4 separate regions of the Homo sapiens genome follow, and all the other regions are linked to region 1. Evidence: promoter capture Hi-C in human tissues and cell types (Jung and others, 2019). All regions are on one chromosome and are shown on one strand. Each heading gives the region's core, a stretch centred on a gene start or on the middle of the fragment in contact. The rest is flanking DNA. Distances are from core to core; before and after follow the strand shown. Region 1 holds the start of NUAK1 (NUAK family kinase 1). Region 2 has its middle 79 kb from the start of CASC18. Region 3 overlaps C12orf75 (chromosome 12 open reading frame 75). Region 4 overlaps C12orf75 (chromosome 12 open reading frame 75).

What was found. The method cuts DNA at HindIII sites, captures the fragments that hold promoters and counts their contacts. A contact is called where the count stands out against the background at its distance.
Region 2: a fragment that was not itself captured here is called in contact with the fragment with the promoter of NUAK1 in region 1 in 7 of the 25 tissues and cell types used here (H1 embryonic stem cells, IMR-90 fibroblasts, aorta and 4 more).
Region 3: a contact is called between a fragment that was not itself captured here and the fragment with the promoter of NUAK1 in region 1, in 1 of the 25 tissues and cell types used here (adrenal gland).
Region 4: a contact is called between a fragment that was not itself captured here and the fragment with the promoter of NUAK1 in region 1, in 1 of the 25 tissues and cell types used here (liver).

The regions. Positions count from the first base shown.
Region 1 is chr12:106,134,750-106,140,917 of GRCh38, reverse strand. NUAK1 (NUAK family kinase 1) reads left to right here and starts at 1,964. Exons shown (of 7, transcript NM_014840.3): 1 at 1,964-2,504. The coding sequence starts at 2,265. RefSeq lists enhancers at 23-642, 3,034-3,535, 5,953-6,168. The HindIII fragment of the contact is 8,166 bases long and covers 1-5,642 here.
Region 2 is chr12:105,622,192-105,628,378 of GRCh38, reverse strand. No RefSeq gene overlaps it. Among named protein-coding and RNA genes, the nearest start is that of CASC18, 79 kb to the left of the region's middle. The HindIII fragment of the contact is 4,682 bases long and covers 2,295-6,187 here.
Region 3 is chr12:105,343,903-105,350,357 of GRCh38, reverse strand. It overlaps C12orf75 (chromosome 12 open reading frame 75), which reads right to left. Exons shown (of 6, transcript NM_001145199.2): 2 at 1,732-1,756. Among named protein-coding and RNA genes, the nearest start is that of C12orf75, 16 kb to the right of the region's middle. RefSeq lists an enhancer at 6,049-6,455. The HindIII fragment of the contact is 4,765 bases long and covers 2,379-6,455 here.
Region 4 is chr12:105,360,271-105,366,330 of GRCh38, reverse strand. It overlaps C12orf75 (chromosome 12 open reading frame 75), which reads right to left. Exons shown (of 6, transcript NM_001145199.2): 3 at 489-524. Among named protein-coding and RNA genes, the nearest start is that of C12orf75, 33 kb to the right of the region's middle. The HindIII fragment of the contact is 8,128 bases long and covers 1-5,897 here.

The sequences.
Region 1 (6,168 bases), core at 715-3,214:
TTTAAAATACTACTGTAGACACAATGTGTTTATCTCTACAATAGATCTGCTAAATCCATATCTTAAGAGAAAACCGAAGCTCTGAGAGGTTATGTCATTTGACCAAGGCCACACAGCCAATCCTCTGGGAAGCCAGGACTCAACCTGCATGCCACTCATCCTGACTGTGGGATCTATAGGCACAACGTCCACAAACTGTATAGAAGCAGAACAGTTTCAGGATGGGGGTGGGTGGCAGGGAGGCCCTGCAAATGCGGTGGACAGAATAGGAATTGAATAGGCATGATGCGCCTTTGTGTCTGTGTTCTGTCATTGCTCCTGGGGAAGGGAAGAAGGGGCAGGGAAGTTTGTGTGAAATATCAGTAGAAGGAAAGTTTGGACAGGTAAGAATATCACGCGTCAGAGTACAGCAGAGACACGTGTGGAGGATGAGGGCAGTGTTTCAGGCCATTACTCTGGCAGCAGTGAGGAGGCTCCCGGGGAGGGTTGGGGAGAGCGGGCTGTTGCTGGAGTCCGGGGTAAGGTGACCAGGGGTAGACAGGAATGAAGGCGGCGGGAATGTAGAGGAAGGGCTGCACCTGAGAGCTGCAGAGGAGGCCCCAGTGAGGTCCACTGGTGGAAAAGAACCGCCATGCGATCTGCAGAACACCAGACCTTCTTCAGCCTTCACTCTTCCCACCCTAGTCTGGTACATTGCACCACTTGTTAAAAAAAAAAATTTCCCTAAGACCTCTTTTTCTCTAGCCTTCTTCCTTATTTTTCATGGTCTCTTCTTAGAACGGCGGCAGCCACGCCGCGGTGGGAGGCCCTTCCTGCCTGACCCTTACCGTGCGGGGTACCGTTCCTGTCACCATCGCCAGGATCTGGCCCTTTCAGTGAAAGGAAATCTCCCAAGGCCTAAGGAGGCAAGAGGCCTGCAAATCGCCTCCTGCTCAGCAAACGGGTTGCTCAGCAGGCCCGGGGTCCTGGTCCACCCCAGGTCCCTGGTTTGCCCACCTCCGATGGCGGCCTTCGCTGGCAGGGTGGGCGCCTCTGGGGAGCCAGCTCCGTCCCGGCGCCTTTAGAGCCCCATCTCTTCCACGTCCCTGGCCTTCCTCCCCTTCCAGGCGGCTGTCCCCGCCGGGGTCCAGATGGTGTCGGAGGGCCGGCGGTTCGACGGCGGGCCCGGGGTTCAGCCTCCCGGCCTCCCTCCGTCCCTGACTCTCCTTTCTTCGGAGAGGGCGCGGGGGCCGGGGCCAAAGCGCCGCTCTTGGGGTTCTCCTGGACTCGGAGTTGCCCCAGGCGGGCGCAGCTCTGCCCCGCGGGGTGCCAGCCTCGGGCGGGCAAGGTCCGTGAGTCACCGCCTGTAACCGAACACCAGGCCTCCCTGCCCCCTCCCCCAGCTCCGGCCGCCAGGCTGCGGCGACACCTACAAGAAAATGAAGGGGCGCCCAGGCCCGCGGCGGCCCCGGCCGTATCGCGAGCAGGTCCCGGCGGCCCCCGGCTCGCGGCGCTCTTTCTTCCCCGGCCCCGGGGCTCGGCCAGCCGCAACCGCCGCCCCGGCGCCAGCAGGAATCCAGGCCGAGCGACCGGCCCCGGAGCCCGAGGCGGCGGAGGGCCCGCGGTAGCTGCGACTGGCGAGCCCGAGAGCGCCCGGGGAGGGGGCGCCCGGCTTGGAATTTCCCGGTCCCTTCCGGCCCAGCGAGGACAAAGCACTCCTGGCCGCCGCCGCCGCCGCCGCCGTGGCCTACGCCGCGCCGCACAAAGGGCGAGTCGCGACACGCTCCCATCCCCCTCCCAGCTCACGGCGGCCCCGGCCCCGGGTGGCTGCAGGGAGGTGGGGGAAGCCCTGGCTGCACCGCCCCTCGCTCCCCCTCCCCTGGGGCCGCGCGAGCGCCGCCCCCGCCCCGTCTGCGCGTCCTCCCGGGGAGGGGTTGGGGGGCGCGGCGCCCCACATAACACTCCCCCTCCTGCGCTGCGAGCCACCCTCTCCCCTCCCTCCTGCAAACACCACCGCCTCCCCTGCCACCGCCGCCACCTCGCCCGACGCTCCACAGCTCGCCGCGGCCGGGGGGCGGTGCGCGGACCGTGCGCGCCGCGGGCGCCAGATGTGCAGTCCCCGCCGCCGCCAGTGACCGAGCCGCAGTCCGAGCGGTATCGGGCCGCCTCCCTGATGCTGCGGGGGCGACCTTGAGCGTACAGCGGCTTCCCTCGGTGGGGACCCCGACATCCCAGCGCTGTGCCCGGTCTTGCCCTCTGTAGCCCGGCTCGCCCCGCGCTTGGACATGGAAGGGGCCGCCGCGCCTGTGGCGGGGGACCGCCCCGACTTGGGGCTGGGGGCGCCGGGCTCTCCCCGAGAGGCGGTGGCGGGGGCGACTGCAGCCCTGGAGCCCAGGAAGCCGCACGGGGTGAAGCGGCATCACCACAAGCACAACTTGAAGCACCGCTACGAGCTGCAGGAGACCCTGGGCAAAGGCACCTACGGCAAAGTCAAGCGGGCCACCGAGAGGTTTTCTGGCCGAGTGGTGAGTGGGGCAATCCTGGAGGGTGCGGGGGGCGCTGGGTGGACGCGGCCGGGGACTGAGGGCGTGCGAGGCGGGGGTCTGTGCGCCCTGGGGCTCTCTTGACAGAGAGGGGGCTCATTGGGAAGCCCCGAGACAGACTCCTCACTCTTTCTCCAGCACCCCGTGACTCAGGCGTGTCTCTGTCCTGAAACACTTGTTACATCCTGTCTGCACATATTTTATTTTATTTTTTGGTTTGTTTTTAAAAATTTAATCCTAGCAGCAAAGGAATGTTTTAGATTTGCAAACACTTTGCAGCGTTGGGACGGCCGGGGTCTCTCTCCCTCGCAGGCACTCATTTAGACCATGCCCCGAAACGTCTTATTTCCACAACTCTCCAAAGAACCACATTCCCAGCTAGGAGCTAGCCCCTCAAGTCCGGTGTTTTGTAGGTGTCCCTACCCCCTTCCACCCATCTGCCCGCAGCTCCTTGCTCTGCATCCTCCCACTCAGACTCTGCATCGCCCTGATACTGCTGTGACTGCAAGGGAGGGCGACTCTTGCCTGTTTTTGAGACAAGGTTAGGGAGCAAAAATAAAGACTACTGCAAGCCTGAGGATTCTAACAGTTTGCATCATGGCTTTGGGAGGACCGAAATGTCCAGGGCATGGGTAGCTACAGAGATAGCTGTGCTTAGTTGCAGCAGGCTCAGTTGTGTTTCAGCTCCTGGTTGCAGGGCTACCAAACCGCTGAAGGGGTCTGGCCCCGCTGCTCTTGTGACAGCTGACACCCTGCCAGGGTCCTGGCACCATTTGCACAGCTCCAAGGAGTGCTTTGAGTGCCTTGGGGTCTGTCTGCCTTGTCCCAGCCTTGGTTTGTTGTTATTTTCACTTCTGCAGAACAGGCCCTTGAAATCCACACTGCTTGTGGCTAGAGAGTTGGGTTCAAAGTGACTGACTGTTGCAGAAAGATTTTGTGTGGTGTGTGGCAGAAAATTAACATGGTTCTTTGATTTGAAGCAGATCAGATGTATTCTAATCGATTTAGGGCCAAAGTCAGAAACTGATTATGGGACTCCTTGTGTGCACTTTTGGGGGTGTTTTGGAGGCTCAGGTTTGCTTATAAACAACAAATGACTGCAGGGAAAAAGGAAAATGAGCTGTCAAATAAAATAGCAGCTTAGTATTGACATGTTTCTTTTGCATTTCGGCAGGAACAGTTCTGTGAAAAAAACATGGGGGTGCCAGTCAGCAAAGTTCAGTCCCCAAATTCTCAAATATCTGGATACCCGGATAACGCCCTCCCAACCCATTTCTCAGATTTGATGTTTGGGTCTATATAACTTCGTCCCATAACGTTATTTTAAAAAAAAATCTGTTATCAATTAATTGGAAATTTGAGATGGCGTACATTTCTTTTTAAAGCTGGCTCTGTAATAAATTCTACAGCAAGCAAGTAGTTGAGAATTCACTCTGGGCAGGTGCCATTTTCGTAGGATGAAATTGTTAAAGGGGAGGGTTGTAAGGGTGGCCTCTGATGAAGGCAATTTCAGGTTTGTGGAAGAAGAGGCTGGGAAACGTGCACTTCATTCATGCTTTTCTTCTGAGGTGATATTCCCCAGGCTGGATGTTGAATAAGCAAAAACTAAGCTTAGATCCCTGCTCATGTTGTCTTAATAGCTGCTGAAGAATCGCACTGGGAAGGTGGGAAGCAGAATAATGAAAAACAGACGCAGTTCGAGCTGCAGGTTGAGAATGTGAGGCTATGAGGGGTTGTTGAAGTGGTAAGGGTGTGTCTAGGGTCTGTGAAGGGACCCCAAAGTCTAAATGCTGGGGCACTACCTCAGACCTTTCTAACGAACGAACCCTTGTCTTATGGCAGACGCCTTTCTGAGCGTCAGTGGGACTTCCTGTCAGGCGTTCTTGAGCTGTCTGATCCACAGACTAGGTTAGAGTGAAAGGGATTTGCATCAGTAGGCAGGAGTCCGCCTTTCTCTTTTGGGGGATGTCTTTCTCTGTATTTGCAGAAACTGAACATTCCGTCAGGATTTAGTCAAGCGGCCACGAGGGGGCGCCCTGAGAACGAGAGAGGCTTCTTTACCAGCCGCAAATCTGAAGTCCCGCTGTGTTATTGTTCAGCCCTAGTTCATTTTCCCATTGTGCTATTAATTTCAGCTAAATCTCTTGTTTTACCCCAAAATTATGTAAAGATTTTAAATCTGGCAGCAGACCCACGCCCAGAAACTGACAGTCTCTAAAATGCTTCGTTTATTCATGGGGCTGCTTTCTCCTTGATAGCTGAGCTTACAGAATGTTAGCCAGATCCCTGGGTAAAAACCTTGCATAAAACAGATGGGAAAACTGAGGTTTGGGGAAGGAAAGTCCTCCTTGGCCCCCCGTCCTCCCCCTGCTGAGCACACTGCTCACAGATGGTGTTAAGAACTTTAGTGAGAAACAGGAATTGTCAAGTGGAAAATTTCCTGTGACTGGCTGAACAGAAAATAACACCAAACAAACAAAAAATTGGTCAACGAGTTGTTCTTGCCCATACAGTGCCTGGTGACTCAGAACCTGTTAAGAGCAGTAAGACATTTTCATCTAAAATATGAACTTGGAGTTTTCTTCTGGTACCAGCGATGTGCTAAACATTCACAACATGCTTTGAAGGTGCAGTTGAGGAGAACTGAAAGGGCACTATCTTAATTTAGCCTTTTGATCTTTGGGTAGAATTTTGAAGTGATGTTTTATTTTCATTTGCACCAGTGCCTTTTACAGCATCTCTCAAGAGGAGCAGTGGTTCTAACGTGTTTTACTAATGTGAGTGGCCCAAGACAGGTGCCGAGTATGGGGTTGTATGAAATGCTGTGAAATCAACATCCCTGTTGAAAGCAGGGGTTCTTCTCAGAGAGGAGAGAAGTTTCTAAAAAATGAGGATGTGATGGTTTTTAATTGCATACCTGGAAGGACCTTCTGAATAAAACAAAACACAACACAGCATCATTTTCTATGTGCCGCGAAAGGCAGTTCTGAAGAGAAGTGCAGAATGAGATGCTTGGAGTCAGCTGGTGCGACCCTGTGTGTCGTCCAGGCACTCTCCTGCAGTCTTGCAGCCTCTGCTAAAGCATGTCCGTGAGACCAGGACTCAGAGTGGCTTGTTCCAGAGATGAACAAGCTCAAAAATGAGGCACTCTTGCAGAAAGGCAAAGAGCCCTGGCTTACATTCAAATCCTTGATCTATCCCCTACTAGCTTTGTGTCTTTTGGCAAGCTATGTGACTTTTTGAAACCTCAGCTTCTTCATCGGTAAAATGAGCTACTAAGAGTACCAACTTCATAGACTTGTGAGAACTGAATACAGTGATCTATATAAAACCTCAAAAGGGGACATTAATCAATTTAGTTCCTCCTTTTAGCAGATTTTTTTTCTCATCTCATTTTAGGATTTCATTAGATTTTAAGACCATCAGAGAGACAATGCATTGTATCATGCAGAGAGAGATAGAAGAAATAATCAACTTTTCAGAGTAATAAAATAAATACCAAATTAATTAGGGAGGTGTGTCCATAGGAAGATGAGATAATTAGCCAGATTCAGATAGGATCTGAACACATTTCTCAAGTCTTGAATTTGGGCCTTGTTTATTGCACAACTTTGGTTTTGATACAGTTTTGGGCAGGCCTACTGGG
Region 2 (6,187 bases), core at 3,386-5,885, 520 kb after region 1:
ACTGAGATGAACCCGGTACCTCAGATGGAAATGCAGAAATCATCGGTCTTCTGCGTCGCTCACGCTGGGAGCTGTAGACCGGAGCTGTTCCTATTCGGCCATCTTGGCTCCTCCCCCCCTCTTTCTTTTTTCTCATTAATGTTTTTTAGTTTTCAGTGTACAGATCTTTTAGTTCCTTGATTGAATTTACTCCTAAGTATTTTATTTGTTTAAGCTATCATAAAGGAGTTTTCTTAATTTCTTTTCCAGATGATTTGTTATTAGTGTATAGAAATGCTACTGGCTTTTGTAGGTTAATTTTGCAACCTGCAACTTTATTGAATTTGTTTATCAGTGTTAACAGTTTTTTTAACAGTCTTCAGGGTTTTCTATATATAAGATAATGTCATCAGCAAACAGAGACAATTCTACTTGTAAACAAAAAAATAAAATTCTAAGCCCTCTAAACTGACTGATGGACCCCCTCTCAGCCAAGGGCATTCCAAAGTAAACCTGAAAATATAGTTCAGGTGATGATGGAAAGTGAGGGGTTGGACATGCCTCATTATCTCCCTCTCACTGGAATTTAGTCACAGCTGACCTGCATTAACATTAAAGCAGTGCTTAAGACCCACAAAGCAAACTCTTTATAGCGATAAGATACCAAATTCCATCCTGGCTGTAGCATAGCATCAGATGACAGCAGGCTCTGAAAGAAACTGAAGTATTTTACCCCAAAATATATTTCTTCAACATATTTTAAAATGGGCCTGTGAAGCTGTCTCTTGCGGGAAAAACCTACATTATGTAGAGAATCCCCTTCCCTTTCCAGATCTTTTCCTAAACCAAGAGTGAATTAACTGAGAGTCTAGCACCTTTTAAAGTCTGATGAGAAACATTTACAATCTATTCTCTCTGAAGCCAGCTACCTGGCGGCTTCCTCTGCATAATAAGAACCTTGGTTTCCACAGCCCCCTATCTTAACCCAGACACTCCCTTCTATTGATTCCAGGTCTTTAGATAATAACTTAACTCTTTCAACCAATTGTCAATCACAAAATCTTTGAGTCCATCTATGACCTGGAAGCCACCCCACTTTAAGTTGTCTTGCTTTTCTAGACTGAACCAATATACATCTTACATGTATTGATTTATGTCTTATGTCTCCCCAAAACATATAAAACCAAGCTGTAGGCTAGGTGTGGTGGCTCGCACCTGTAATCCCAGCACTTTGGGAGGCCAAGGTGGGTGGATAACTTGAGATCAGGAGTTCGAGACCAGCCTGGCCAACATGGTGAAACCCTGTCTCTACTAAAATACAAAAATAAGCCAGGCGTTGTGGTGGGTGCCTATAATCCCAGCTACTCAGGGGGCTGAGGCGGGGGAATTGCTTGAACCCAGGAGGTGGAGGTTGCGGTGAGCCAAGATCATGCCATTGCTCTGCAGCCTGGGAAACAGAGTAAGACTCCGTCTCAAAAAAAGAAAAAAAAAAAAAAAAAAACCCAAGCTGTACAATCATCTTGGGCACATGTTCTCAGCAGGAACCCTGAGACTGTGTCATGGATCATTGGTCATCATATTTGGCTCAGAATAAATCTCTTCAAATATTTTACAGGATTTGACTCTTTTTGTAGACACATTTCTTCCTTTTCTGTATGAATGTCTTTCTTTTTCTTACCTAATTGCTCTGGAGAGGACTTTTGGTATGATATTGAATACAAATGGTGAGAATGGGCATTCTTGTCTTACTCCTGATCTTAAAGGAGAAGCTTTTGACTTTTCATCACTGAGTATGATGTTAGCTATGGGCTTGTCATGTACGGCCTTTCTTATGTCGAGGTACATTCCTTTTATGCCTATTTTTGAGAGGGTTTTTTTTTTTTAACCATGAATTAATATTGAATTGTGTCAAATGCTTTTTCTGCATCTGAGGTGATCATGTGGTTTTCATCCTTCATTTTGTTAATATGGTATATTACATTTTTTAATTTATGTATGTTGAACAATCTTTGCATTCCTGGAATAAATCCCACTTGATCACAGTGAATGATCTCTTTAATGTGCGGCTGATTTTGGTTTGTTAGCATTTTGCTAGGGGTATTTGCATCTATGTTCATTGGGAATATTGGCCTATAGTCTTCTTTTCTTGCGGTGTCCTGTCAGGAACTTAACTATGAAAACCAGCAGAGCAAAAAGTTTCCAAATCATGTTAAAATTTATTTCTTCAGTTACCAAGGGGAAAAACAAATGTGTATAGAGCCCATTTATTTGTATCAGAATGAACTTAAGAAGAAGCAATTTAAGGCCAGGTGTGGTGGCTCATGCCTGTAATCCCAGCACTTTGGGTGGCCGAGGTGGGAGAATGCTTGAGCCCAGGAGTTCAAAACCAGCCTGAGCAACATAGGGAAACCCTGCCTCTACAAAAAAAGTTTGAAAATTAGCTGGGAGTGGTGATGCGTGCCTATGGTGCCAGCTACTCAAGAGGCTGAAGTGGGAGGATCACTCGAGCCTGGGAGATTGAGGCTTCAGTGAGCTATCATCACACCGCTGTACTCCAGCCTGGATGACAGAGCAAGACCCTGCCTCAGAAAAAATACAAAAAAAGAAGAACCAATTTATACTTAACAATTTTCTAGAATAAGCAAATGAACCCTGCTTCTAAGATCTTACACATCAGAGTACCAAGGACAAAGAGGCAAATATGGAGTAGATAAGTTGAAATATATTTATGAAAAAGTACTTTTCTAAATCTGAAGTTTTTCAAATGTACTCATACGCATTGTCTTATTTGATCTTCCAACTTTTTCTGATGCATGTGTGGTATCTGTTATTCCTATTAAATCCATTTTTTACAGTTAAAGCTTGGATAAGTTACTACCAATAAGTGGAAAATTAGGATTTTGATCCAGATATTTCAAATCTAAATCCTATTTCCCTGAGGCTCACCAGGCTGCTGAAAGCAGTTGTATATATAGATAAGGTAAAATATTTACTCCAAGACTAGAATGAGTAATTGAGTATCAAATGGAAATGGGCAGCGCTATTGGATGTTCATGTTCACATAAGGTGAGATTGAACTGATTGGAAATACACCTGTGTGTGCAGTGTGCATATGATGTTTGCATATATGAATATATTTTATATATGTACACATACATATATATGTGTTTGTGTTTGCATTATACTTGGGACTATACATATATGCAGTTGGGCAAATCTTAAAATAAGCGTGAAGATATCATAAGCTGATTTAATGGAGCAGAAACGAATGAGAGAAATTTGGGAGAAGAATCAGAGAGCAAAAAGGAAAGATTAGAAGTGAAAAATGAGAAATGCTTCCTCCTGCCAGTCAGTCCATCTGGATCTAAAGAGTCTAGCACTCAAATCACTGTTACCTCCACACCCATAGCAGAGCTCATTCATTGTTCAGGGCAATCTTTCCCACTAGCTTGGATACAACCACAGAGTCCACCCCAAAAGTGCCCCAAGCAGCCATTACCAACGGATCAGAGAGCACTTGCAAAGCCTCTCCAACACTGCCCTGGGAGGCACTCACTGACTTTACTCTCAACAGTATTTTAAATTGAACTCAGTGGACTACAAGGACCTCCCATTTAGATTCATTCATTCAATCAGTCATTGAGCAGTTAATATGCACTTTTCTAAAGCTAGTTTCTCCTTTTCTGGGTCTTAACTTACATACCACATCCTCAAGGAAACTGCTTCCTGATCCTGTTTATGGTACGGTGGTCATCCCATTTCATTATCTCAGCACCTGTTTTCTTTCTTTTTCACATTTTTTTTTGCGGGGAGGGTACTGTGTTTTCTGTCTCCCTCACTAGTCTGAAACAGAGGATGTGCATGTCACAAGCTCCATTGTATTTTTGGCACAGTACTCAGCACATAGTATGTGTTGAATAAGTACTGATTCAATGATTGAATAAGCAGATGAAGTAATAAATAAATACTCAGTGCTTGACCTCAATTGGCTCACAGTCAAGGGCAAGAAGTTTTTTGTTTTGTTTTGTTTTGTTTGTTGTTGTTTTTGTTTTTTCAGAGATGGTGTCTTGCTCTGTCACCCAGGCTGGAGTGCAATGGCGCAATTTCAGCTCACTGCAACCTCTGCCTCCCAGGTTCAAGTAATTCTCCTGCCTCGGCCTCCCAAGTAGCTGAAATTACAGGTGTGTGCCACCACACTTGGCTAATTTCTGTATTTTTAGTAGAGATGGGGTTTCGCCATGTTGGCCAGGCTGGTCTCAAACTCCTGACCTCAGGTGATCCACCTGCTTCAGCCTCCCAAAGTGCTGGGATTACAGGCGTGAGCCACCGCGCCCGGCCAAGAGGTTCTTATGCATACAGATAAATGACACTTTCAACACCATCAACAAGCTCAGAGAGCACACTGAGCAGAGGATTTTGAGAGAACAAACAGAGGACAGCTGGAAGGCTTTCCAAAGAGATGATGCTTGAAGGATGTGTAGGGAGAAGCAAAGCAAAGAAGTGAAAAAGGATATTCAAGTCCAGAGGCAAATTTAAAACTATGGCATTGAAGATGAGCTATGCTTGAGTGAGGCTGAAACAGAGGAAGCCACAGTGGGGTGGGGATGGACTAGTGGCCAGTTGGGAGGGTACTAAGGCAGAGGGGCCACACCAAGGAGGGCTACCAGCTGCTTGTTTTTTCTCTCCCCTCTTGCCAGCTCCCACCTTTCCTCCCCTTGAACTGTCTGGCCAGGAATCCCATTCATTTTTGCAATGAACTTGCTGCTCTTTGGTAGACAGCCTAAGCCCAGAAATGGAGTAAGATTACCTTTGTGTTTATTTTAGTCTCACTTTAAGGATCTTATCTCTAGCAAATCCCCCATTATGGTTCACCATAGCGAGACACATAGGAAGAGCCACTTTTGCAAAAAATAAAGGTCCAATGATTTTCCCCAACCCCATTAAACTGTCATGAAGTTATGCTTTATTTACCAATGCAGATTCATTGCTTGCAGTCCATGGGCCCCAAGGCAGGAGGACAGAAATGAAATCCTGAGGTATACAATCGTTGTGGTGTCTGGACTTTGGGGGAAAATTTTTCAGGGTTTTATGAAGAATTAGCTTTCATACTAAACTTTATTAAACTTTATCACTGAATTCTTTCCCTTTGGAAAGGGCTTTTCAGCTATTAAGCCTGGAGAACAGCCCACGTCGGATTAATTCCAAATGAAATGTAGTGGAGGATCTGGAATCCTCTGAGCACAGACACATAAGTCTCATTAAATGTGTATAGATGCTCACAACAAAGCCCAGCTCAATTATACCCTGAGAACGGCGCTCAGAGAGACTGACAGGGTTGAGGCCTGGCCAGGGGTCTCCCGGGCACACACAAAGAAGCTTCAGGGAGAATGCAAGCATCACTCTGCCCCACAAAATTTTCTTTGGCTAATTGTAAAGGAAAAATTACTTGGAAGTGCCAATTAGCCTCACTTCTTTTTGTCCATTTTAATTTCATTCCCCTTATCAAATCAAGATCTGTGACAGCTTAATCCGAACTCAAACTCTCGGTCAAATATTTAGAGGCCGAAAGTGGTGAAGAAAAATTCCAAGTGAAACCCCAGGCTGGGACCCAAGTAGAGAACTAATTCACCTTGATGAAATAATTGCATTGCTAATACCTTGAAAGAAAGAAAATTATTTTCTCAGACAAAAAGAGCTGACCTCCCACTTTCACCCCCTACGCTCTTCCTGAGAAGCAGAAATCATCAATCCTCAACTGGTAGCAATAGAGAACAAATATTTGGGGTCTCTGTTTTGGTCTTGGGGCTTGGTTGGTTTGGATCCTATTTTCAACAGCACTTTTTCCTTAAAATGTAGCAAATATTACACAGCTAATAGGAAATCTACTTATTCTTTTCACAGGCCAAATAAGCTTGGAGAACATACATTCTTAAGGCGTGTGAAGTTTGCTTTTGGCACAGAAAGCGATCCAGAAAGTCATGCAGAGAGGGCAGGACTACATGGTTGAGAGCTTCTTGGAGGCAGAATGAATCAAGAAAAGGTTCTTTAGCTAAATAATTACTGAGCCCTTTGTGGACACTAAATAAATGGTACCTATTAGCATATGTCTTTAACTCCCAGACCTACAACTTTTTCCTGTTTTAATCTTTCTGGAATTTCAGTATGTCTTGTCATTAAAATGTTCATTGATTTAGTGTAGTAGTGTTTC
Region 3 (6,455 bases), core at 3,512-6,011, 790 kb after region 1:
GCTCACTCTCCACTGTAGCATCTCCTCCCACGCCATGCGAGCCAGTCGGTTTGAGGCTAAAACATAAATGCTCTTCCTATTCCTAATAAATCCTGGGTTCAGTCCAGAGGACGATGGGAATAATTGAAAGGTTTTGAGCAGAGGTCCTATGCAAGTGCAGGGCAGTGCTTGAGGAAAATTAATCTGGCAACACATATAGAAATTGAAGGGAGAGACTGAAGGAGAAACCAAAATATTGCAATAATAGGAATACGGTCAGGGTGCAGTATTCACTGTTGCTAAATGTTTACGTAATAAACTCCAACACAGCAAACAGGAGCTAGAAGCCATCAATTACTGCTTCCTTTGTATCTAAAGTCCTAATTTTAAAATGCATATTTAAATATTTAATTCCCAGAAAGCTTTACAATCCCATTCTCATCTTCTCTAAATTCTTTGTAATAAGAAATAAGAAAGTCTGACTCTTTTTTTTCTTTTTTTTGAGACAGAGTCTGGCTCTGTCACCCAGGCTGGAGTGCAGTGGTGTGATCTCGGCTCACTGCAACCTCCACCTTCCCAGTTCAAGCAATCCTCCTGCCTCAGCCTCCCAAGTAGCTGGGATTACAGGGGCCCACCACCATGCCTGGCTAATTTTTTGTATTTTTAGTAGAGACAGGGTTTCACCATGTTGGCCAGGTTGGTCTTGAACTCCTGACCTCAAGTGATCCACCCGCCTCAGCCTCCCAAAGTGCTGGGATTACAGGCATGCGCCACCATACCTGGCCCTATTTTTGGTATTTGACCATTGAAGGCTTTTGAGCCCCATCACTCCCCTTTTGCCCCACATCTGTGTAAGCCAATAAGAAAGTGGGGGCACTTCTTCCCTGTGCCAGCAGGAAGATCAAACCTCTGCCCATTCATAAGTAGCCTCACCCCAGCCCACTCTCCAACCAAAATAAAAACTAGACCCGTTTGGATGGCTGCCCTGCTCTCCCCAGAAAGCCTCATGTGAGCAATACATCTTTCCACACCCTCCTGAGATGTGGTGAATCAGTCTTGACACCCAACCCAGTTTTGGGTGGGAGAGTTGATCCCACCCTTCACTGGGTAACCAGAAATACTCTTAAAGAGTGAACTGCTGTAGTGTCCTTGCTATAGCTAGATTAGAGGCAGGAGGATGCAGAGAGAAGGGGCATGGAAATCCTGAATGCTCCTGAGCTCCAGATCTCTCCACAGGGAGATGCCCATTATTAAATGCCCTGTGCTCTAAAGATAGCTCAATGGTGACTATGTTGAATGGCCCTATATATTCATTCGAATATCTAGTTATCAACTTTAAAACAATTCAATGTACACTTGGTAACTGCTTGGCCCCAGCCTTTCCTCCCCAGCTAACTCTAAAACACTGCGTAGTCATAGGAGCTACATGCTTATTTCTCCTATAATCACTTGCTTTTAACTAAAAGAAAAAAAAAATCTCTATACCAGTTGGGATGGAAAACACAATTCAACATTTCCCCTTCTTAAGATCCTGAGTTAAAGTGCCCAGGCAACTGAAAAGCTAATGAAAAGCACAAAGAACCCTCTCTGAATAGCACTTTAGTTACAACGATCATCTTGACATGTGCATTATACACAAAGTATTTCCATGTCTTTTCAGCCATACCCACAGAGATCTAAAGGTCATAATCATGAAAAACAGCAACTTCCTCAGAAAGACAGCTTATAAAATCATTAATATTCAATACTTACACATCTTTGGCTGCTCCTGCAGGGCCTAGAGAAAAAAAGAAGATAGGTTTGTATTGGTGTGATAGTATTGCTACAAAAATGTTGTCTAATACCTAATTAAAATACAGTAATATTCCTGAAGAGAAAATGGGTTTAAAAAAATTTTCAAAAACAGAGAAAGGAGGGCAAAAAAATCATAAAATTCAAATCTTTTTTTTTTTTTTTTTTTGTTTCAGATACAGTCTCACTTCGTTGCCCAAGCTGGAGTGCAGTGATGCAATCTCGGCTCACTGCAACCTCTGCCTCCTGGGCTCAAGTGATCCTCACACCTCAGCCTCCTGAGTAGCTCGGAATACAGGTGCATACCACCATGCCTGGTTAATTTTTGTATTTTTTCTTGAGATGGGGTTTCACCATGTTGCCCAGGCTGCTCTCCAACTCCTGGGCTTAAGCAATCCTCCCACCTTGATTGCCCAAAGTGCTAGGATTACAGGCATGAGCCACTGCACCGGGCCTCAAATTCCAATCTTAAATTTCAAATTTAGTTTAAGTTTCAAATCTTAGCTTTGGAATCTATTCCACCCATCTTTAACAGTTCCTGTAAATTACAAGGTGCCAGTTCTGAAAAAGATTTTACAGATCACATTAATCCAACCTCACATTTTATGAATTTTAAAACTGGTAGACTTCGAGAAACATTTTCTTTTTTAAGCCATACACCTTTTAAGTTGGTGTCTGCACGGCAGGTTAAGTCAAACTGTGCGCTAATGCAAGCAATGGACTAAATTAATTAGGAAGCCTCAAACACACCAGCCTAGCTCCAAAAAGAGTCACATGCATCTCTAACTCTGCTCCCATTGGCTTCCCATCTGTGATGGTTAATACTGAGCGTCTACTTGATTGAACTGAAGAATGCAAAGTATTATTCCTGGCTGTGTCTGTGAGGGTGCTGACAAAGGAGATTAACATTTGAGTCAGTGGACTGGGAGAGGCAGACCCACACTTAATCTGGGTGGGCCCCATCTAATCAGCTATCAGCACAGCTAGAATAAAGCAGGCAGAAGAAGGTGGAAAGAGCAGACTTGCTGAGCTTTCTGGCCTTCATCTGTCTCCCATGCTGGATGCTTCCTGCCCTCGAATATCGGACTCCATGTTCTTCAGCTTTCAGACTCTTGGACTTAGACCAGTAGTTTGCCAGGGGCTCATGGGCCTTCAGCTATAGACTGAAGACTGCACTGTTGACTTCCCTACTTTTGAGGTTCTGGGACTCGGACTGGCTTCCTTGCCCCTCAGCTTGCAGACGGCCTATTGTGAAACTTCACCTAATGATCATGTGAGTCAGTCCTCCTTAATAAATTCCCCTTCATACATTCATCTATCCTATTAGTTCTCTCCCTCTGGAGAACCCTAATACACCACCCATGTGACAAAAACAGCTCATCTCTTCTGGTCTCCATCCCCATTACTTCTCGCAGATTCTCTGCCCACATTTCCTCCTCCCAATATCTTTATCTGGGAGGCACAGGACTTGGTTCCAACTCCTACAAGATATATGGTATTAAGCATCCTTTAACCTCTTAAAACCTCACCTCCCTTATGTCAAATGAGGGTAAAAGGTATCTTTCTCAAAGGTTATTGTGAAGATTTAAAAAGACAATGTGTAAAAAGACAATGTAAACACTTAACACAAAGCTGGCACATAAAAATAGCAAACTAAGTTATTATTAGACGTCACACTTAATATTTCAATTTCGATATATATTAAATAGAAATTAAAATAACTTCTGCACAAGTCACAGAGGTGTAAAAATAAAGGAAGATGTGCTACAAAGTAAGTAAATAAGTCTGTGGGTAAAGTTATTGCCAAATTGCAAGAACAATCAAACAATGATATTCATTTTGCATCTGTAATACTGCAAATTAAAAGCTGATCCTAAAGATAATTGAGGCTATGTCTCAAACGAATTCTTTTAAGGCTTTGACTAAACCTAAACTTTGTAATAATCTTAGTTCCTTTCTTCAGGGAAGAACATTTCTGTGCCACCATTACTGTTAAAATGATACATTATGTAAACTACTTTAGAATCAGAGATTATTAAACCAAAAGATCCTAAACTTAAAAAAAAATCTTAACACAGGAAAAACTGCCAACAGTAGAGTGTTTTTGATAGAAAAAAATTAACAAAAATTAGTGCCACCATACACCCGTGAAAATGAACGTTTTATTTTAGAGTCAAGCATGAGAATCTAGAAGAAAATCTGTGTAAATCAAAAAGTATTGAGATAGGTCTCAATCAATTTAGAAGTTTATTTTGCCAAGGTTAAGGAATGCCTGTGATACAGCCTCAGAAGGTCTGGAGAACACGTGTCCAAGGTGCTCAGGCTACAACTTGGTTTCATACGTTATGGGGAGACATAAGAGGCCAATCAATACCTGTACGATGTACACTGGTTTGGTCCGGGACAACTCAAAAGTGGTGGGGGTGTGGGGGGTTGTTTCCAGGTGATAGGTGGATTCCAAGATTTCCTGATTGGCAATTGGTTGAAAGAGTTTATTTAAAGATCTGGAATCAATTGATTCCTGGAATTGTCTTGAGTTAAGATAAGGGATTTTGGAGACCCAAGGTTTTATTTTGCAGATGAAGCTTCTTTAAATGTTTCTTATCAGACTTAAAAAAGTGCTAGGCCGGGCACGGTGGCTCACGCCTGTAATTCCAGCACTTTGGGTGGCCGAGGTGGGTGGATCACCTGAGGTCAGGAGTTTGAGACCAGCCTGGCCAACATGGTGAAACCCTATCTCTACTAAAAAAAAAATACAAAAATTAGCCAGGTGTGGTGGTGGGCGCCTATAATCCCAGCTACTTGGGAGGCTGAGGCAGAATTGCTTGAACCCAGGAGGCAAAGGTTGCATTGAGTTGAGATTGCACCACTGCACTCCAGCCTGGGCAACAGAGCAAGACTCTGTCTCAAAAAAAAAAAAAAAAAAAAGGCCAGACACTAATTCAAGATCAGGAAAAAGACCTGGAAAAGGAAGAGAATTTATCTACAGAATACAGATTTCCCCCCACAAACGACAGCTTTGCTTGACATTTCAAAATTTATGTCAAAGAAATATATTTTGGGGTAAAATACTTTGACTTCTTTTTTTTTTATATTTGTTTTTGGAGTCTTATGCTGCCACCCAGGCTGGAGTGTAGTGGTGCCATCTTGGCTCACTGCAACCTCCGCCTCCTGGGTTCAAGCTATTTTCTTGCCTCAGCCTCCTGAGTAGCTGGGATTACAGGCGTGCACCACCACGCCTGGCTTATTTTTGTATTTTTTAATAGAGACAGGGTTTCACCATGTTGCCGAGGCTGGTCTCAAACTCCTGAGCAGAGGCAATCCAATCACCTCAGCTTCCCAAAGTGTTAGGGTTACAGACATGAGCCACCACACCTGGCCTGACTTCTTTCAGAGCCTGCTGTCATGTTGGTATCTTACTGCTACAAAGAGTCTGCTTTGTCAGTCTTAAGGTCTGTTTTAATGTTAAATGCTGGTCAGTTGTGCCTGAATTTCAAAGGGAAGAGGGTATAATGAGGCATGTCCAATCCCCACTTCCCATCATGGCCTGACCTAGTTTTGCAGGTTAACTTAGGAATTACCTTGGCCAAGAGAAGGGGTCCATTTAATTGGTTGGGGGGGGGCTTAGAATTTTCAGCTTACGTCTAAAAAGAAAATAATATCTTTTTAGCTTTTATTTTTTTATTTTTGTGGAAAAGGATAAAGAGTATGTTTGGGTTTTGCTGGAGTCAGGGCAAGGGAGAACCAGAGATGAGCCTTTGACTCTGCAAGTCTTACAGAGGGAAGAAAACAATGATTATAATGTGGACCATGAGTCCTCAACTTTTTTTTTTTTTTTTTTTGACACAGAGTCTCACTCTGTTGCCTAGGCTGGAGTGCGGCAGCACAATCTTGGCTCACCACAACCTCTGCTTCCTGGGTTCAAGCGATTCTCCTGCCTCAGCCTCCTGAGTAGCTGGAATTACAGGCACCTGCCACAACACCCAGCTAACTGTTTTTGTATTTTTAGTAGAGACAGGGTTTCTCCATGTTGGCCATGCTGGTCTTGAACTCCTGACCTCAAGTGATCCACCTGCCTTGGCCTCCCCAAGTACTGGGATTACAGATGTGAGCCACTACACCCGGCCGAGTCCTCAACATTTAAAGATGAGGGGTGACCTAGTACAATCCACAGGAAGAAGAGAGTGGCCAAGGCTGCCCTGCTACATCTCAGGGATGGCAGAACGGTGATGGGGTAAGAACAGTGTGGAATCAGAAGGCAGATGACTGGAGTCGGATCCCTATGCCAGTATTTGTCTGACAGTCACTAAATCACTTTGTTTCAGCATCTAGTAAATGAGGACATACTGGGCCAACAAATGCAGCTAGGAAGGCAAAGCACAGTAACGTGTGTGAAATGAGAAATGAGTTTACAAATGGCCACATGTTGTGCATTCAGTGCTTATTTTAATCAGCATCAGGAACTCTCCATCCACTTCACCTTGATTGCACCAAGCTATGGGCACCATCAAGGGCCTCCTCCCTGCTGGGCTCACCATTTAACATCCCAGCAGGCCCAAGGGAGATGCATGGTGCCACCATTTAAAACAAAGTCAACAGACCATTCCCTCTGTTCTAAAATGGCCCTCATTTGAAAGGGCATCATCAACTGAATAACTGCAATGGTAGGGGTGGGGCAAAGAAGT
Region 4 (6,060 bases), core at 584-3,083, 770 kb after region 1:
TATTAAATATCATACAGTGACATGTTACAGTTAACATTTATCAATAATTCAGAGTGGTCAACATGGTATGATATTAGGCATTATGGACACACAAAGATATCTTACTAATAGAGAGATACAAAATGAGGGCAGAGACAGCAAGAGAGAAATGAGGGTGGAGTGCAGTTAATCAGAGAAGTAGGAGGACAGGGAAGGCTGAGAGAATGAAGGGAAGTCATCCAGTTAGGGAGAAGAGCACACCCAAAGGTCATAGGATGAAAATTAGCACACGCCACATGCATAGGACAAAAACCAAGTTTGCTTGGAAGGAGCAAAGATGATGAATCCTGGGCAAGTTCTTTTTCAGACCATATGCCCCTACCTGTATTCTCTGTGCCAACAGTTTTCCTGGCAGAATCTGTGTTATTGGGAATATGCTACAGTGTGTTAAATCCATGAGGTATGGCCAAAACCATTCAAACTAAAGCCAGCTGCAATACCAAACATACCTCCTCTTGTCATCTTCTGTTACGGATTCTTCTGTTCTAAAAGGTCAGAAACATTTGCTATGAGACACTTGGTTACATAGTCGGGGACTTCATTTTTGGTTATGAGAAAAAGGGACTACTGAGTTGAAGTCAATTTTATTTCAAATGTTTCCATCAGACTTAAGTAGAGGAGCAAAACTATCCATCAAGTGTTTCTGTGACAATATTCTGCCTTCACCTCAATCATTCATACGTTAAAACTTGGTAATTTTCTACAAACCAAAATGTGTGAATCCAGCAAATGCCAAAATGCACAACTGCCAAATGAAATGGAAAACTGAGGGCAGCTGAAATTGGAAAGAAGCCTGAGTTATCGTCTTGTGTGTACCACCCACTCCCTGTGTGACAGACAGGCTGTGGGCGAGCTGCCAGCCTGTGTCTCATTTGTAAAATAAGCTGGTTGACCAGATGACCCCTCAGGTCTCTTCCAGTCCTAATACATGGTTTTAGATCTCTTATGACACTTCAGTGGCACAACTATAGGTACTGAAAGACTTCTTCAGTGCAAAAAGAGTTAATGCCTATTTGATTTTTTTTTATCTAAAAACATGAGCCATTTCATACATGATCTACTGCAAAGAGAGGGAGAAATATTTAAAAGGATACATTTAGAGGGGATCACTACTTTAAAATGCACAGCTTCTCTCCTTGCATTAAGAGGAATCCAAGCTGGACATGGTGGCTCATGCCTGTAATACCAGCACTTTGGGAGGCCGAGGCGGGCGGATCACCTGAGGTCAGGAGTTCGAGACCAGCTTGGCCAACATGCTGAAACCCCATCTCTACTAAAAATACAAAAATTAGCCAGGCATGGTGACGCCTGTAGTCCCAGCTACTCAAGAGGCTGAGGCACAGGAATCCTTGAACCCGGGAGGTGGAGGTTGCAGTGAGCAGAGATCACGCCATTACACTCCAGCTTGGGCAACAGAGGGATACTTGGTCTCAAAAAAAAAAAAAAAAAAAAAAGGAGTCCATATTCTACCAGAATTCCTTGGCGTATTTCTAAGAGAATCAGGACACTTTCCTTGAAGCACTAGTTGGCATACATAAGTTGCTTTTCTGAAAGAAAAAAAAAATAATTCAACAAGATTCCAATGTATCTGGCTGAATTCAACTTGTAACACTAAGGGGCTTCAGTTGAGCAAAAAGCAGACTGCAAACATCTAAATGTCATTGACTCTTCTGATTCAGAGATTGTCTAACTATGATTTTACCCACTTAAAAGCTGTGAATATTTCAAATGTGACTGTATATGTGCATGAGATTTTTGCTTTATTGCAACAGCCAGTAAGTCCAAGTCTATAAAGAAGGAAAGTGTAGATTTAATAATTATCTGGTGAACGCTGGCCATGAACAGCTAATACTGGAAGAGAGTGCAAAATCCATCTTGAGACCTAATTCATCCAAACTGAGCATATAACCTAAATTCACTAGATGGTTATCAGCTTCATTTACCTCTTAACGCTGGATTGTTTTTTTAGTTCAAGTGTCAAAGTCATACTAATGGTGTTATGCTTATTGATGTGGTATAAGAGAGAGTTGTTCACTACTTTTAATTAAAATGGATTTATAATCCTTTAGCATAGATAATGGAGAAATGATGAGGACAAACTCGTTCAAGGTAAGTTCTGATAAGAACTGTTTACTTTGGTCCTGAGTGATTAACTTTCTCAAGAAATCACTTGAATCTGTATATAACTGGTAGCTTATGACACACATTTCCGGCCATGACTATTCTTTTCACATCCATTTACATATCCGTTTATTTTAATTCTTTCCCCTTTTGCTTAACTGTGCTTAAGGATATATTCAAGGTTTTAAAATATATTTTCACTTTCCCAAATGTAAGAAAATAGTCATTTACTTTCTCCTGTTAAATTACTCAATATCTTAAAACTCAATCTGTGTTCTCCATTATAAAATTAATCAACAACCTTACATGTATAACTGGCAGGAAATGATAATGTAGTTGCCATATTTATTGGATAATAAATTAAGCTTCAGATATAATGCCAAATCTTAAAAAAAATACTACCTATAAAGACTTATAAGATGTCCACTCTTTTTTTTTTTTTTAATTAAGACAGAGTCTTGCTCTGTCACCAGCCTGGAGTGCAGTGGCACAATCTCGGCTCCCTGCAACCTCTGACTCCCTGGTTCAAGTGATTCTCCTGCCTCAGCCTCCCGAGTAGCTGGGATTCCAGGCCCGTGCCACCATGCTCAGCTAATTTTTGTATTTTTAGTAGAGACGAGGTTTCAACATGTTGGCCAGGATGGTCTTGATCTCCTGACCTCGTGATCCTCCCACCTCGGCCTCCCAAAGTGCTGGGATTACAGGCTGAGCCACCCCGCCCGGCCAGATATCCACTCTTTTAAACCTTCCAGTAAGTTGTAAAGCCTGTCTTTGCATACTCACTCCCATGTATAAGACTGTCACTTCATCCATTCCTTCCACAAACAGTTATTCTACAACACTAGGACTAGAGACCAGGACTCCGTGGGTATAATGGTGTCATTCATGAGTCTCTCCTGTGTGTCAGGCACAGTGCAGGACACTGCACGTGCATCCATGCTATTCCTCACAACAGCTCTGAGGGCCTAGGCCTGAGGAACCAGGTGCAGAAAGCCATGTAATTCATAAACATACAAGACTAACAAGCATGACCAACATCCATACCCCATCCATCTGGCACCAAAGCCATGCTCCATTCTCATTCACCACTCTGCTTCTCAGGTAGAAAGATGTAAAAGTCAAAAACACTTCCTGTGAAAGACCAACGTAGTGGCTTCTCCTAAAGTGGGCGATTCACCTCCATACTGCTTTTGCAAAAGCTTTGACCATCATCCCATCTCTCAACCTGATTGTGTAACTATACTAGGCACTTTGCTAATCCTATTATATTAGTTCATTTAATCCTTATACAATCTTGCAAGACCAGTACTACTCACATTTTAAAAATGAAAAAACTGAGTAGCATGACCGAACTTACGAAGCTAAATCATAGAGCCAGAATTCAAACCCAGATTTGTGTGATCCTAATTCCTGCTTCATACACTGTAGGCCCATGCTAATTTGCATTAGAGAAACATGCACCTTCCCGCAGCTGGAGCTCTCCAATTTTTTTTTTTTTTTTTTTGAGACGGAGTCTTGCTCTGTCACCCAGGCTGGAGTGCAGTGGCGCGATCTCAGCTCACTGCAAGCTCCGCCTCCCAGGTTCACGCCATTCTCCTGCCTCAGCCTCCTGAGTAGCTGGGACTACAGGCACCCGCCACCACACCCGGCTAATTTTTTGTATTTTTAGTAGACAGGAGGTTTCACCATGTTAGCCAGGATGGTCTCAATCTCCTGACCTCATGATCCACCCGCCTCAGCCTCCCAAAGGAGCTCTCCAAATTTTTTTTTTTTTTTTTTTTTTTTTGAGACGGAGTCTCGCTCTGTCGCCCAGGCTGGAGTGCAGTGGCGGGATCTCGGCTCACTGCAAGCTCCGCCTCCCGGGTTCACGCCATTCTCCTGCCTCAGCCTCCCAAGTAGCTGGGACTACAGGCGCCCGCCACACGCCCGGCTAATTTTTTGTATTTTTAGTAGAGACGGGGTTTCACCGTTTTAGCCAGGATGGTCTCGATCTCCTGACCTCGTGATCCGCCCGCCTCGGCCTCCCAAAGTGCTGGGATTACAGGCGTGAGCCACCGCGCCCGGCCAGGAGCTCTCCAATTTTTATCATCCCACTCAAGAAAAGTCAGAAACAAGATTGTAGAAGAGTCCTAGTCTGTTTCATCAGCATGAGAAACAACCTCTAACTGCTGCCAGGGACCATCAATCTTCGCAGATCTTGTCAAATTGCCACATAAGTCATTTTTATGCAGGTACAAAGGTTGTTCTGATGAGCAGTTACATTAGAATCTATTCATCTGGACAACCAGGTCCAGACTAAGGTTAAATCAGAAAGCGGTGGTTGGTCTAAACCAACTCTTCCTGCGGAAGGATAGGTCCAAGCCCTTGTGTTGAGCTGCCTGGGGAGAGAACCAAATGCTGTCCTGCCAGTGTTCAAAGGGACACAGCATCCTACCTGTTGGGGTGGTGTGGTCCTGCCCCACCTGCACAAGCTTTAGCGTAAGGAAGAAAAATGGGTCAATACACAGCAATAAAGACCCCTGGTAAAAGGAAGGCCCAGACATGTTAAGCCAAAGCTCCTGACAGGCCAATGCGATTGCCTCAGGTTATTAGGTTTTTAGGCTCCATAGTCTAAAAAGTCTAAAAAGCACACCTTCTGGTGGGGGGACTCATTTCCCTAAAGGTCGTTTTTTTGGTAAGAGAAGTGGCTGTTCAAAACTGGGATGTTAAATTTATTTTATCACTCAACACTTTTACAAGAAACTTTAAGTCTTTGGGATTTGAATCCTTGTTCTCAATTTCTCAAGTGTTGAATAATGCCCCAGCTATCCAAACAACAGGGCTGCCCCATCTGCAAACCATTTTAAGGAATCAACATACCTTTTTCCCCCTCACAAAACTCTTTATTTTGAAAGATTTTACCTGCCTTAATAATTTCAGCCTGGGCAACACGGCAAGATCTTATCTCTACTAAGAACACAGAAAATAAAATAAAAGTAGCCAGGTGTGGTGGTGTGCACCTGTGGTCCCAGCTACAGGAGGTGGCGGTGGGAGGATCACACGAGCCTCCCTCTTGTGAGGGAAAAGGGTACGTTGATTCCTTAAAATGATCTACAGGGCAGGCGCGGTGGCTCACACCTTTAATCCCAACACTTTGGAAGGCCGAGACAGGCGGATCACCTGAGGTCAGGAGTTCGAGACCAGCCTGGCCAACATGAAGAAACCCCGTCTCTACTAAAAATACAAAAATTAACTGGGCATGGTGATGTGTGCCTGTTATTTCAGCTACTCGGGAGGCTGAGGCAGGAGAATCGCTTGAACCTGGGAGGCGGAGGTTGCAGTGAGCCGAGATCGCGCCATTGCACTCCAGGCTGGGCAACAGAGACAGACTCGGTCTCACAAAAAAAAAGATCTAAGATGAGGCAGCCCAGATGTTCACCTGAGCCCGGGAGACAGTGGTTGCAGTCAGCTGAGATCACGCCACTGCACTCCAGCCTGGGTGAAAGAGCAAGGCCCCGTCTCAAAAAATAAAAATTGTAATAATTCACTTGTCAATATTTTCTTACACATGTAAGTGCCAAAAGGAGCTTCTGATGGGCATGGGGGAACTGAGGTGCCCACAGGTAGCTTATGTCATTCAAATCAAAGGCAAATAAATTTTACATTTACAGGTACACATCACCGTAGGCACACATAGATTTCTATTAGGTTTCAGAAGTTACAAAAATAGTGTCTGGTCCTTCTTCAGCCCTGAGGATCCAGAATGTCTTGCTGGAAATGGCCATGCTCAGGCCAGAACATCCACAGCCACATAAGCTCCTGGATGAGCCACTCCGTTCTTCACCAAGGATGTGATTATTTTCTTTTCTGGTCACTACAGCTCCAGTTGTAGGGCAGTGACCACTGCATGCTCTGCAGCCG